Regions from separate parts of the Homo sapiens genome. Here region 1 is linked to region 2. Evidence: promoter capture Hi-C in 16 types of primary human blood cells and fetal thymus (Javierre and others, 2016). All regions are on one chromosome and are shown on one strand. The core of a region is centred on a gene start or on the middle of the fragment in contact, and the rest is flanking DNA. Distances in the headings are between cores, read along the strand shown.

The links. The method cuts DNA at HindIII sites, captures the fragments that hold promoters and counts their contacts. A CHiCAGO score of 5 or more calls a contact.
Region 1: a fragment that was not itself captured here is called in contact with the fragment with the promoter of ZYG11A in region 2 in 1 of 17 cell types (naive B cells); the score reaches 5.0 in naive B cells.

The regions. Positions count from the first base shown.
Region 1 is chr1:52,430,104-52,436,538 of GRCh38, forward strand. TUT4 (terminal uridylyl transferase 4) reads right to left here. Exons shown (of 30, transcript NM_001009881.3): 27 at 5,262-5,362; 28 at 910-1,357. Among named protein-coding and RNA genes, the nearest start is that of PRPF38A, 29 kb to the left of the region's middle. The HindIII fragment of the contact is 1,649 bases long and covers 2,139-3,787 here.
Region 2 is chr1:52,839,592-52,846,815 of GRCh38, forward strand. It overlaps ZYG11A (zyg-11 family member A, cell cycle regulator), which reads left to right and starts at 3,169. Exons shown (of 14, transcript NM_001004339.3): 1 at 3,169-3,382. The coding sequence starts at 3,293. RefSeq lists a silencer at 2,919-3,248 and an enhancer at 3,750-4,343. The HindIII fragment of the contact is 4,430 bases long and covers 2,790-7,219 here.

The DNA of each region.
Region 1 (6,435 bases), core at 1,713-4,212, 410 kb before region 2:
TTTATTTCTCAAATACTCTATAATGAACATTTATTACTTAGATATCAGAAAAAAAACTATTTTTCTTTTTTAAAGAATTGTTCCTGAGAAAAAATAGTGTCTAGGGCATGCAGCAGCACGGTTTTGAACAAAGAAATTCGTTTAACTCTTGGACCTACCATCATTAATTTTTTTGGTTTCCTTGATCTTTTTTTTGTTTGAGACAGTTCTGCTCTGTCGCCCTGGCTGGAGTGCAATGGCGCAATCTCGGCTCACTGCAACCTCCACCTCCTGGGTTCAAGCGAGCCTCCTGCCTCAGCCTCCCACATAGTTGGGATTACAGGCGTGCACCACCACACCCAGCTAATTTTTGTATTTTTAGTAGAGATGGGGTTTCACCATGTTGGCCAGGCTGGTCTCGAACTCCTGACTTCAGGTGATCCACCTGCCTCCGCCTCCCAAAGTGCTGGGATTACAGGCATGAGCCACCATGCCCGGCCAACCTACCATTATTAACCATGACAGTAAGACAGTGAAGTTACTTAACTCTTCAATTTCATCAACTGTGTAATAAATAATACACCAAACTGAGTGGCAGTGAAAATTTTTTAAAATACTAAAATAATAGCTAACATTTATGTGTGTTACACCTCATTTAACATTTACAACATCCCTGTGAGTTAGATGGCCTATTTTACAGATGAAACCAATGCACAAAGAGATTAACTGCCCAAGCTACATAATAAATGGCAGGGCCAGGATTCAAATCCAGGCAGTCTGAGTCCAGAGCCCATATTCTTAATCTTTATCTAATCCTGTACTGTCCCCTCCACAAATACTGCTTTCCTTCTTTTTCCTCACATTGTTTCTACAGACAGATACAAAAGAAGAAAAGACATGCAGATAAAAAAGAAGAAAAGGAAAGGTTACCTGAATTCCCCACTGCACCACTGTTTACCAGGGAATTTGGAGCCACAGTACGGGGCCAGTGTCCATCGTGAGACGTGTTAGGGATTGCCACAGGTCTGGCAGCAGGCTGTGCAAAGATGATGCTGGGATCATTTAGGCCAATATTGCTGGGGGCACTGCCTGGTGCAGAGTGGATCACTGGGCCATGGATGGGCCAGGACGGGGCAGGGATCTGGAGAGGGTGCATTGGCAACAATCCCATATTGTGCATGGGAGAATACTGAGCTGGTGGTGACTGGGGAAAGTTATACAGTGGCATCTGGACCTGATGGGGAGGTTGGGCTCCCTGCTGAGGTGGGCCAAGCTTAGGTTGGGATCCTGGCTGAGATGAAGGCTGAGTAATAGCAGCTGACTGGGAAGAGTTCTGTGGAAATGGCTGAGGCTGAGGAGAATAAGATGGTGATTCAGACTGCAGACAAAAAAAAAATTTTTTTTAATTAATTTATAAACATCTTAATTTTATAAAAGTAGAGATAAAATACAAAATTAAAAACTTTATAAAACAGAACTCTATGATGTATATCATAACAAATAATTAGTTTTTCCCAAGGTACTCAAACCCCCTTTTCAAGTAGGTATTGCCTCACAAATCGTTTTATTGTCCAAAGAAACGAGAGCCCAGACATGGTTCCCATCGTGCAGAACACATACTTCCTATTGCAAACTCAAAACTTCCATCTAAATATCTCATAGTCACTTTCATTCAGTCCCTCAACAAGTATTTATTGTGTCAATTATGTACTAAGTATTGTTCTAGGTAATAAAAATGTAATACCAACATGTATGCCCTCATGGAGCTCAACGTTTAAGGGGGATAAGGAAGGGAGCAGACAAAGATTACATAAGCAATCATAATAAGTATAATGAGTACTATGATAAAGAATGTACAGTGTACAGCTGTCCCTCAGGATATGCAGGGGATTGGTTCCAGGACCCCCACAATCCTGTACTCAAGTCCCACAGTCAGCTCTACAGAACCCATATATACAAAAAGTTGGATCTCTGAATACTTGGGTTTTGCATCCTGGGAATACTGTACTTTCCAACCACAATCTGTTGGAAAAAATTCATGTATAAGTAGACTCACGCAGTTCAAACCTGTTTTGTTCAAGGGTCAACTACATAATGAAATCCCAGAGCAGGAACACCTAAAGTCACTTTGGGAGAAGGAGAGAAGAGAAATCAGGGAAAGCTTCCTAGAAAAAGTGATCTTTTAGCTGAGACTCAGGGTAAACAGAAATCAGTCTGATACAAGAAGGGAGAGATAAGGGGAGAGGAAGAGTGTTCAATATGATTGAAGGTCTAGAGGTATGAAAACACATGGCTTTTTAAAGTAATTGGAATCTGAAAGAAGTTTAATATTACTGGAGTATATATAATGGCAGGGGAATGGCCGAGGCTGAAGAGCTAAATAGGGGCAAGACAATGAAGTGTCTTATAAGCCTTGTAATTTAGACTATATCCTAAATGCAGTGGTAAACCACTGAAGGGTTTTAAACAGGTATGGAACATGATCAATCTGAACTTTAGAAAGATTATCCTGGTTTAATAAGAATAAAATAGAGAATTTTTTTAAAGGCTGATGAGAGACAGGAACAGTGGCTCAAGACTGTAATCCTAGCACTTTCAAAGGCTGAGGCAGGCAGATCACTTGAGCTCAGGAGTTTGAGACCTGCCTGGGCAACATGTCGAAATCCCATCTTTACAAGAAATACAAAAATTAGCCAAGTGTGGTGGTGCATGCCTGGAGTCCCAGCTACTCTGGAGGCTGACATGGGAGAATCACCCGAGCCTGGGAGGTCAAGACTGCAGTGAGCCATGATTGTGCCACTGCACTCCAGCCTGGGCAACAGAGCAAGACGCTGTCTCAAAAATGAATGAATAAATAGATAAGTAAAAATTAAAAGGCTGTTGAGACTGATTAGGAGACTGCTAAAAGGCTGTTGAGACTGATTAGGAGATGATAGTAGCCTAGGCTAAGGAAACACAAACAGGGATAGAGGGAAGCAAATGGCTGTGAGATACTTTTTTTTTTTTGAGACAGTCTCGCTGTGTTGCCCACGCTGGAGTGCGGTGGTGCAATCTCGGCACATTGCAATCTCCGCCTCCTGGGTTCGAGTGATTCTCCTGCCTCAGTCTCCCAACTAGCTGGGATGACAGGTTCCCTGCCACCACATCCAGCTAATTTTTTGTAGTTTTAGCAGAGATGGGGTTTTACCATGTTGGTCAGGCTGGTCTCAAACTCCCGACCTCAGGTGATCCACCCACCTCAGCCTCCTAAAGTGCTGGGATTACAGGAGTGAGGCAAACACCTAGCTTTTTTTAAGGCAGAAACAACAGGACTTAGTGACTGAACATAGAGGTTGAAGGAGAGGGAAAAGTTTTGGAAACTAGATAGAAAATGGGATCATTCAACGAGATATAAAACACAGGAGGAAGAGGCAAGTCCTGGGGGTTGAAAGGAAAGATTAACTATATTTTAGGCATGTTGACGTGCTTTGTTAGACATCAGAATAGCAATGTCCATTAGACAGACTCTTTCCGAAAGCACGGGTGAGAGAAAAGTGAGGACTAGTAGCATAAAATGAAAATTAGGGCAGCATAGAAAAGTGGTTAGAGCATAAGTTTTGCTGACAGAGAGCCTGAGGGTTCGCGTTCTGATTCCAAGTGTCTATTGACCTCAGGCAAGAAACTGAAACCTCGGTTTCTTTACCTATAAAATATAATCAGAATTTGCCTCAGGTTTTTGAGAAGATTAACTGAACAATGCATGTGGAACATATAACCACCAAGTTCAAGATAGCAGATACATTTCTGTAGCAAGGGAAGGATGGTAGGAAGCTTTTAAGATAGGAATGGGATCAAAGAAGAATGTACAGGGTGTTCAACTGAGGGTGATTTTTTAATAAAGCTAAAATAACAATGTTAAAAACTGTTAAAGCCTGGTAATGATACATAGAGATTTATTTTCTATACTTTTCTGTACTTTTGAAATATTTTATAATCACAAAGAATGAATGCATGTACAGCACATAGTTTACACTCAACAAATGTTAACTACATTAAATGTGATTATTGTTGTTTATGAAAGTATCAAGCACATAATAGGTATTCAAGTGTTTGAGGTGAGGGTGGAAAATTTCCTAAATGTTTTCCAAAGATTCTCCCTAATACTCTTCAAATACTTGAATGTTTTTTCTAAAACACAAATCACATTAGATTTAGCATGTTAAACGGTTAATGGATTTGATGCTAGAAAGACTTCGGTTTGATTTTTATACTCTCTTATTCTCAGTTTCCCAATTTGTAAAATTTGATGATACTAATACCTACCACTTCACATGGCCACTCCAAGGATTAAATTTGCTAAGTGTAAAGCACTGAATATTATGTCAGATTTAGAGTGTTATTTAGAGTCATTATTAATTAAGAAGTACAAGGTGAATATAGATTTACACAAAGGTTAAGAGCAACTCAACAAACAATATTAAACTTATGAGTCTGGGCTGGGCGCAATGGCTCACACCTGTAATCCCAGCACTGTGGGGAGCCAAGGCAGGTGGATCACCTGAGGTCAGGAGTTCAAGACTAGCCCGACCAATATGGTGAAACCCAGTCTATACTAAAAATACAAAAATTAGCTGGGCGTGATAGTATTGCCTGCAGTTCAGCTACTCAGGAGATGGAGACAGAATTGCATGATCCCAGGGGTGTGGATTGTAGGGTTGCAGTGAGCCGAGAACACGCCACTGCACTCCAGCCTAGGCAATGGAGTGAGACTCCATCTTAAAAAAAAAGAAAAGATAGTAAAATAAACTTATGAGTCTGAATTCTCATTCAATACTGTTTTTTTACAGGGTGTATTTCACTAGGTATCCACAGGTCAAGCTATGAGAAGACAGAAGTTTCATGCAAGCAAAATGCCATGTATATATTGCCCTAACAACACTAAATGCCTAAAACATCTCAATTTTTTGGTCTATTTTTATTAATGGTACTGATATTTTTCCACTAAGCAAAGTCTGAAACCTCAAAGTCATTACCTTATTTTTAATCCATCTTATTAGGTAGTTATTGTACAATTGAAGAGTAGGCTCATATAAATTAAGTAGCTTCTCTGTAGACAGAAACCCAGATCTACATTATTCCAAAAGGAATGCTCATTCCACCTTATGTGCCTAGCAAGGACATATATACAAAGCACTGTGTAATCTGGAAGATTGTATTAGCCAGTCTGAGAGAAAACACTATCACCCATTAAAGATACTGCTATCATCAGTCAAGACTAACACATTCACAGGCAGAGTACTTACACATTCTGATGACTGTCTAGTCCTTATGGACTGATCACCCTGTTGCTGAGCTGAACCAGCCACCTGTTGAGCATTTACAAGGTTGCGGACCAGCTGGGCTGCTAAGAGAAGGCATCACAAAGAAAATCAACAGATAAGGAAAGTAGCAGAGAAATGACAATAAATAAACTCCCTTCTTATGTAAAAGAATCTCAAATATCTCTGCAATTTTATAAACTTGGACTTTTAAACCTTAAGTATATTAACGAAGGACTTGCAGCAACTGAGCTACTTAATTTTAAAAGCTATTTGTCAAACTAGCAGATCAAGAAAAAAAATAACACTGATCCTAGAAGCAAGAACAAATGTTATTCTGCTTTTCTAAAGGAGACAACATATTTATTTGAGAAATACTTTCTGGTTGGGTGCAGTGGCTCATATCTGTAATCCTAGTATTCTGGGAGGCTGAGGTGGGAGGATCACTTGAGTCCAGAAGGTCAAAGCTGCACTGAGCTGTGATCATACCACGCACTGCAGCCTGGGCAACAAGAGTCTGTCTCTCTCTATGTCTCTCTCTCTCTCTCTCTCTCACACACACACAAACCTTTCTGCAGTAAGAATCTGAGTAACTGGAAATCACTACTTCTAAAATGTTCTCTTATTTTTTTTTAATAAACTCTTACTTGGGTTACTATTTAACTCTCAAATTCCTTGTGAAATATAACATGAACAGGTATCCTTCTCTCATAACAGCAGTGGGAAGAAATATAATTCTCCAATATGTTTCTAGGAAAAAAGTCTCTTGTAAAGAATGTTAGTGAGAGAAACAGATGAAGAATCTGACTCAAATCCAAAGAATAGGCTGGGCACGGTGGCTCACGCCTGTAATCCCAGCACTTTGGGAGGCCAAGGTGGGTGGATCACCTGAGGTCAGGAATTTGAGACCAGCCTGGCCAACACAGTGAAACCATGTCTCTACTAAAAGTCTAAAAATTAGCTGGGCGTGGTGGCATGCGCCTGTAATCCCAGCTACTCAGGAGGCTGAGGCAGGAGAATCGCTTGAACCCGGGAGGCAGAGGTTGCAGTGAGCCGAGATCGCGCCACTGTACTCCAGCCTGGGTAACAAGAGCGAGACTCCATCTCAAAAAAATAAAAATAAAAATAAAAATCTAAAGAATACTTACAGGGAGATAAT
Region 2 (7,224 bases), core at 1,919-4,418:
AAAAATGCCAGGAGAAGACTGACAATCAGGCCACCGCTTTGTGCCCATGACAGAAACGGCAAAGCCTATTTTTTTTTTTTTTTTTTTTTTTGAGACGGAGTCTCACTCTGTCGCCCAGGCTGGAGTGCAGTGGCGGGATCTCGGCTCACTGCAAGCTCCGCCTCCCGGGTTCACGCCATTCTCCTGCCTCAGCCTCCCAAGTAGCTGGGACTACAGGCGCCCGCCACTACGCCCGGCTAATTTTTTGTATTTTTAGTAGAGACGGGGTTTCACCGTTTTAGCCGGGATGGTCTCGATCTCCTGACCTCGTGATCCGCCCGCCTCGGCCTCCCAAAGTGCTGGGATTACAGGCGTGAGCCACCGCGCCCGGCCCTATTTTTTTATTTTTATTTATTTTTTAAGAAAGAGAGTCTCACTCTGTCGCCAGGCTGGAGTGCAGTGGCGTCATCTCGGCTCACTGCAACTTCCGCCTCCTGCGTTCAAGGAATTCTCCTGCCTCAGCCTCCCGAGCAGCTGGGACTACAGGCGCACACCACCATGCCCAGCTAATTTTTGTGTTTTTAGTAGAAACGGGGTTTCTCCATGTTGGTCAGGCTGGTCTCAAACCCCGACTTCAGGTGATTCACTTGCCTTGGCCTCCCAAAATGTTGGGATTACGGTGTGAGCCACTGCACCCAGCCACTTTTATTTACTTATTTTTACTTTTTGCAACAAAGTCTCGCTTTGTCACCGGGGCTGGAGTGCAATGGCGCAATCTAAATTTACTGCAACCTCTGCCTCCTGGGTTCAAGCAAATCTGGCTCAGCCTCCCAAGTAGCTGGGATTACAGGGATGCGCCACCATGCCCAGGTAATTTTTTTGTGTATTTTTAGTAGAGATTGGGTTTCACTATGTTGGCCAGGCTGGTCTTGAACTCCTGACTTCAGGCGATCCACCCATCTCGGCCTCCCATAGTGCTGGGATTACAGGCATGAGCCACCGTGCCTGGCCTCATGTGTTACGTTTTAAATTAATTGGTTTAATAATAAGAGCTTAAATAAAATATTTTGTCAGAAAAGTGAAAAACATAATGCCTTTTATTTAGTTCATGTGACTTGGGTAATCTTTGGGAAATAAAGATGGGTTTAAAGATTATTGATAAAATACAAATGTCTTCAAAATGTAAACATGTGGTCAAAATTATGTTCAAATATTAGGTTTGCTAAATGCTTTAAGGTCATAAACTGCTTCCTTGGCTTTTGAAAATTGTTTAACTTGCCTGTTTTCTAGCTCGGTAAGGCCTGGGACATATGCAGTTGGCCACACCTCTAGATATGCTGGAAATAGTCAAACCTTATGAGAACATAACTTACCAGGTTCTATATTAAAGTTAAAATTGCTGAAATTCACACTTCAGCTGTAATAGGAAATATCCTCTCCATTGGGCAAAAGCCGAGGAAATGACTGTAACTTTCCTTCATCCTCGTCATTTACATAGGGCATACCCCAAGTAGAGGGTATTTAAACTCCCAAAAATTCTGTAACGGGGTCTTTGAGCCCCAGTGCTCGGGCCCACTCCCACATTGTGGCATTGTGGAGTGTACTTTCATTTTCAATAAATCCCTTCATTCCTTCCTTGTTTGTGCGTTTTGTCCAATTCTTTGTTCAAGACACCAAGAACATGAACACCCTCCACCGTTAACAAAAGCATATTGGCGGGGGCACGGTGGCTCACGCCTGTAATCCCAACATTTTGAGACGCCGAGGCGTGCGGATCACCAGGTCAGGAGATCTAGACCATCCTGGCCAACATGGTGAAACGCTGTCTCTACTAAAAATACAAAAATTAGCCGGGTGTGGTGGCGCGCGCCTGGAGTCCCAGCTGCTTGGGAGGCTGAGGCAGGAGAATCACTTGAACCCAGGAGGCGGAGGTTGCTGTGAGCTGAGATCGCGTCACTGCACTCCAGCCTGGGCAACAGAGCGAGACTCCGTCTAAAAAAAAAAAAAAAAAAAAAGCATATTGATTGGACTTGCAGTAAGAAAACTCAATTTTGACTCCCAGGTTGGCCACTCATCAGCTGGCCAAAAAACGTGTTGTCTATTCAACCTGTCAGTTCTTCAGTTTCCCTGTGAGAAAAATGGGGATGATACCTACAGCACAGGATTTTTTTTCTTCTTGTAGTAAGTGGATTAAATAAAAGAATAAATAAATGAAAGAAAAGCATTAGGCAAAGTACTTAAAAATAATTTTAACATCTGAATCCAATCCACTTATCAAGGACTTACTATGTAAAAAGCATTGTGATGTGTTTTACATACATTATTTAATCCTTACATTAAGTCTGTGAGATAAAGCATTCTCATTCTATTTTACTGATGAGGAAGTTGAGCTTCAGAGACATCAAGAATCTTGCTCCAGGTTCTCAAACACTAGATGGCTGAGCGGGCATTCTAATTCAGGATTCAAACTCCAAGGCTCATGCTCTTGAGAACTTTCCTTTTCCAAGGTATTGCTTTCTCTTAAATTAGCTAATGTGTACTAACTTGTGGAGTTTCTTTCCTGGAGAAAGTTAGAAGGGTCTCTCGGGGTTTCTTTCTTGGAGCAGGTTATAAGGGTCTTCTCGAGTACTTTTTAAGTAACAAGAAAGCTAAATAGATTTTTTGGTAGATACTTGCCAATATTTTGTATTCGTTTTATATTTGATTTATCCAGATACTCTAAGGAGTTGAAACAGAGAGGACCGTTAGAGAGGTGCTGTTGCCAGATTTTCAGGGGCAAAGTCTTTGAAATATATATTTTAATGTATGAAAGCTTTAAAAAATATATACATATATAGAAATAATGAATATGTGTGTGTGTGTGTGTGTGTGTGTGTGTGTGTGTGTGTGTACATGTATATATATATACAGTATTCCCCAAACCTACACAGCCGGTCCTCGGGGAATATCCTCTCAAGCCCTGAGGTGCAGGGCTGGGAAGGAGTGGGTGAGCGGCTGGGTCGTGGCAGGTTGGTCTGGGGAGGCTGGGGAGGCTGGGGAGGCGGGAGGAGAACGGTTGGCCCCGGCAGCGGCGTGTCGGAGGGCGGATGGGGCTAGGAGGCCGCCCGGGGGGTGGGGTCTGCGGCGGGCCGGCCCCCGCGTGCGCGTCGCCTCGCCGGGCATTTCAAAAGCTCGCCGGCAGGGCGCGGCGCTAGCTCCGTGTGCCTCGCAGGCGTGGTGGGCGCGTCCTGGCAGCCGCCCGCTTGGTTCTCGCGGGATCCGGGCTCCGGCTCGACGCCGGCTCTCTTTTTGACGCCCCGCCGCCGGGGTTGCCATGGTTCATTTCTTGCACCCGGGCCACACGCCCCGGAACATCGTCCCTCCTGACGCTCAGAAGGATGCCCTGGGCTGCTGCGTGGTACAGGTGAGCACCGGGGTGCGGGCGGCGACGCGGACCTCGGCGCCACGTCCAGCTCCGGCGAGCGCGGCGAGTCTCCTGGGACGCTGCCGAGGCACTTGCTGGGGAGTGTGGCCCGCGCGGGGCTGCGGTCTAGATGCCGAGCCCCTTCCAGGCGCAGGCGTCGCTGCGGAGGTGCGTTGTCGGGGGAGGCGGCCTGGGCGCCGCGGAGCGGGGGGTGCTTTTCTGCGCCCGGCGAAGCGCGTGGAACTTGCGCCCTGAGGCAGCGCGGCGAGAGCCCAGTCCCAGAGACCGGGGCGAGCCTCCTCAGGATTCCTCGCCCCAGTGCGGGCTGCTGTGAGCTTAGACGTAGGTGCAGGGCATGGCACTCGGCTTGGCCCGTAGTGGACGGTGTTTTTGCAGTCATGAACCCAAACGCCGCAAACCTTGACCGTTTCCCCACCCGTGTTGTGGACGCAGCGCCCCGCGGAGGCGGTGACCCTTTGGCCGTTACCACCTGAGGCCTTTGGGCCCGGGGCCGGGCGAGTAGCTTAGTCCGGCTGGGGGAACTGGAACCCGAAGTCTGAGATTCTTTCAGTTCCGCGCGTCCGCCCCCGTCCCCGTCCCGTCCCCAGCCTTTGCCGAATGCCTGTTACTCTTAGCTCTGGACAAAATGCAAACCCAAAGAATGTGTGTTTAGCGCCTGCTGTGTGTTAAGTGTCGCCTTTCTTTTCTTTCTTTCTTTTTTTTTTTTTTTTTGAGACGGAGTCTCGCTCTGTCACCAGGCTGGAGTGCAGTGGCGCGATCTGGGCCCACTGCAACCTCCGCCTCCGGGGTTCAAGCGATTCTTCTGCCTCAGCCTCCCGAGTAGGTGGGACTACAGGCGCGTGCCACCATGCCCGACTCATTTTTTGTATTTTTAGTAGAGACGGGGTTTCACCATGTTGGCCAGGATGGTTTCGAACTCCAGACCTCGTGATCTACCCGCCTCGGCCTCCCAGAGTGCTGGGATTACAGGCGTCAGCCACCGTGCCCGGCCAAGTGTCGCCTTTCTAAAGCAGTCTGGTAACCCCTAGTCTTTTGTAGGCTTTGCTAGGCTCCATTTTACCGATGTAGGGAAGTTGGGAGCTCTGAAATTTAGTTGACTTGCTCGTGAACTTGAATTTCACCTCAGGTGTTCAGACCTCTGGCCCCACTTTGGAAAAAACCCGCCAAGGGCCACCCTTGGGGAACTCGAGGGATTGAGTGGTGAAGGCTCGACCCAAAATTTATGGAGAGAAGGAAATGTTCTGATTAAGGTTGTGCTTTACATATTAACGCCTTGTTGGAAGACTTTGTGCCCTGCAGTGATCTAGCCTGTAATCTTTTGAACTCATTTAGAAAAGTTATATAATTTGTGGATTTGTAATTAATGGAAAACTTGGATTTTTTACGTGTGTGCTAGCATCGTCTCAAGCACATTTTTTCCTGCTTGGAATCGAAACAAGATTTCTTTACAAAAGTACTCACACCCATTTTCTCTGTCTAGTTCTGGGTATATCTCATTTTCTTTGTTAAGGATTTTATTTATTTTTAATTAATTATTTTAATTACACAAATATTGCATGAATACTTTTTTCCCTATGAAACATACATACAATTATTTCCATTTATGTCATTTTAATCTTCTCTTAGCAATGTTTTGTAGTTTTTAATATAAAAGTCTTTTCACATTTTGTTAAATTTGTTCCTGTTCTTGATACTATTGTAAATACTTTTTTTTTTTGAGACGGAGTCTCCCAAAGTGCTGGGATTACAGGCATGAGCCACCGTGCCCGGCCAGCAAATATTTTTTAAAACTTTATATTACCTTGTGTATATATAAGAATACATAAAATTGATTTTTGTATATTGATCTTGTATCCTACAGCCTGGCCAAAGTCACTTAGTTTTCTTTATTTTTTTGTAAATTTTTAAAGATTTTCTACACAGTCATATTATTTTCTTTTTATCCTTTTAATTTTTTATTTTTAATTAAGACGGTGGTTTCCCTATTGTCCAGGCTGGTCTTTGAACTCCGGCTCAAGCAATCCTCTTGCCTTGGCCTCCCATATCTTTTCAATTTTTTGCTTCATGAATTTTGAAGCTATTAGTAAGTTCGTATGCATTTAGGAATGTTAATTCTGCTTGATGAATTGGCCCTTTTATCATTAAGAAATGTCCATCTTGATCTCTAGCAATATTCTTGTCCAGAAGCCTCATTTTTTCTGACAGTGTAGTCACTCCAGTTTCCTTGTGTCTAGTGTTTAACAACTGTATGTTTTAAATTGTGTCTCTTGTAAACAGCAATCTTGCATTTGTATGTAGCCTAATGGTCTGTGCTTTTTTTTTTTTTTTTGAGACGGAGCCTTGCTCTGTCACTCAGGCTGGAGTACAGTGGTACAATCTTGACTCACTGCAACCTCCGCCTCCCGGGTTCAAGCGATTCTCTCGCCTCAGCCTCCTGAGTAGCTGGGACTACAAGTGTGTGCCACCATTTCCTGGCTAATTTTTGTATTTTTGTAGAGACAGGTATTTTTGTAGAGGCGGGGTTTCACCATGTTGCCCAGGCTGGTCCTGAACTCCTGGCCTCAAGCGACCTGCCCATCTTGACCACCCAAAGTGCTGGGATTACAGGCGTGAACCACTGCACCCAGCCTTTATTTTTGAATTTTTTTTTTTTTTTTTTTACAGAGGACAGGAAAGTAAACATTTTAATTTTTTTAATTAAAAATGTATTTTTTAAATTGATTTTTGCAGGGAGGAGAGAGTCTCACTCTGTTGCCCAGGTTTGAGTGCAGTCTGTGATCATAGCTCATCCTCCCTCCTCAGCCTCCCTAGTAGCTAGACTATAGGTGTGCACCACCATGCCTGGCTGTTTTTTATTTTTTGTAGAGGCTGAGTCTTGCTTTGTTGCCCAGGCTAGTCTCAGACTTCTGGCCTCAGCCTCCCAAAGTTCTGGGATTCCAGATGTGAGCCACTGTGCCCGGCCTTTCTGTGCTTTTTAATTAGAATAAATATAATTATCAGTATTGTTGGGGTTAAGTCTACTGTGTTGCTATATATGTTCCATTTGTCTTGTTTTTTCCTTTTCTTTTGAATTATTTAGAAAATACCATGTTCTCTTTTGACTTAGTAGTTCTCTCTTTCTCTCCCTTTCTCCTTCTTACTCTTTAATAGTCACTCAAAGGTAGCTGTTTTCAAAGTGTGGACCCCAGGACCTCCAGAATCCCATCTCTTCCATTAGCCTGCCTGTTAATGAAATTTGCAAAAATGTAAAACAGTGCTGCTGTTCTCAACTAAGCTAGTTTTTAGTTCTTTTGGAAATCATGGCTTTTTAAATTTTTATATATATATATATATATATATATATATATATATATATATATATATATATATATATTTTGAAACAGAGTCTCACTCTGTTGCCCAGGCTGGAGTGCAGTGGCATGATCTTGGCTCACCACAACCTCCGCCTCCCAGGTTCAAGCGATTCTCCTGCTTCAGCCTCTTGAGTAGCTGGGACTATAGGTGCACGCCACCATTCCCGGCTAATTTTTGTATTTTCAGTAGAGATGGGGTTTCACTATGTTGGCCAGGCTGGTTGAACTCATGATCCATCCACCCTGGCCTCCCAAAGTACTAGGATTACAGGCAAGCCATCGCGCCCGGCCAATTATGGCTATTTTAAAAAATGTTATCTATGTTAACATGCTCTGAGTTTTTAATTTTTTCTATGTGAATTAATGTGTATTTTAAAGATTGCTAAGATTTAATTTTTAACGTGGTATATGTTGATAGATATAACCCAATTTTTAAGAGTGTAGAGTGGTACTAGGACCAAAAAGCTT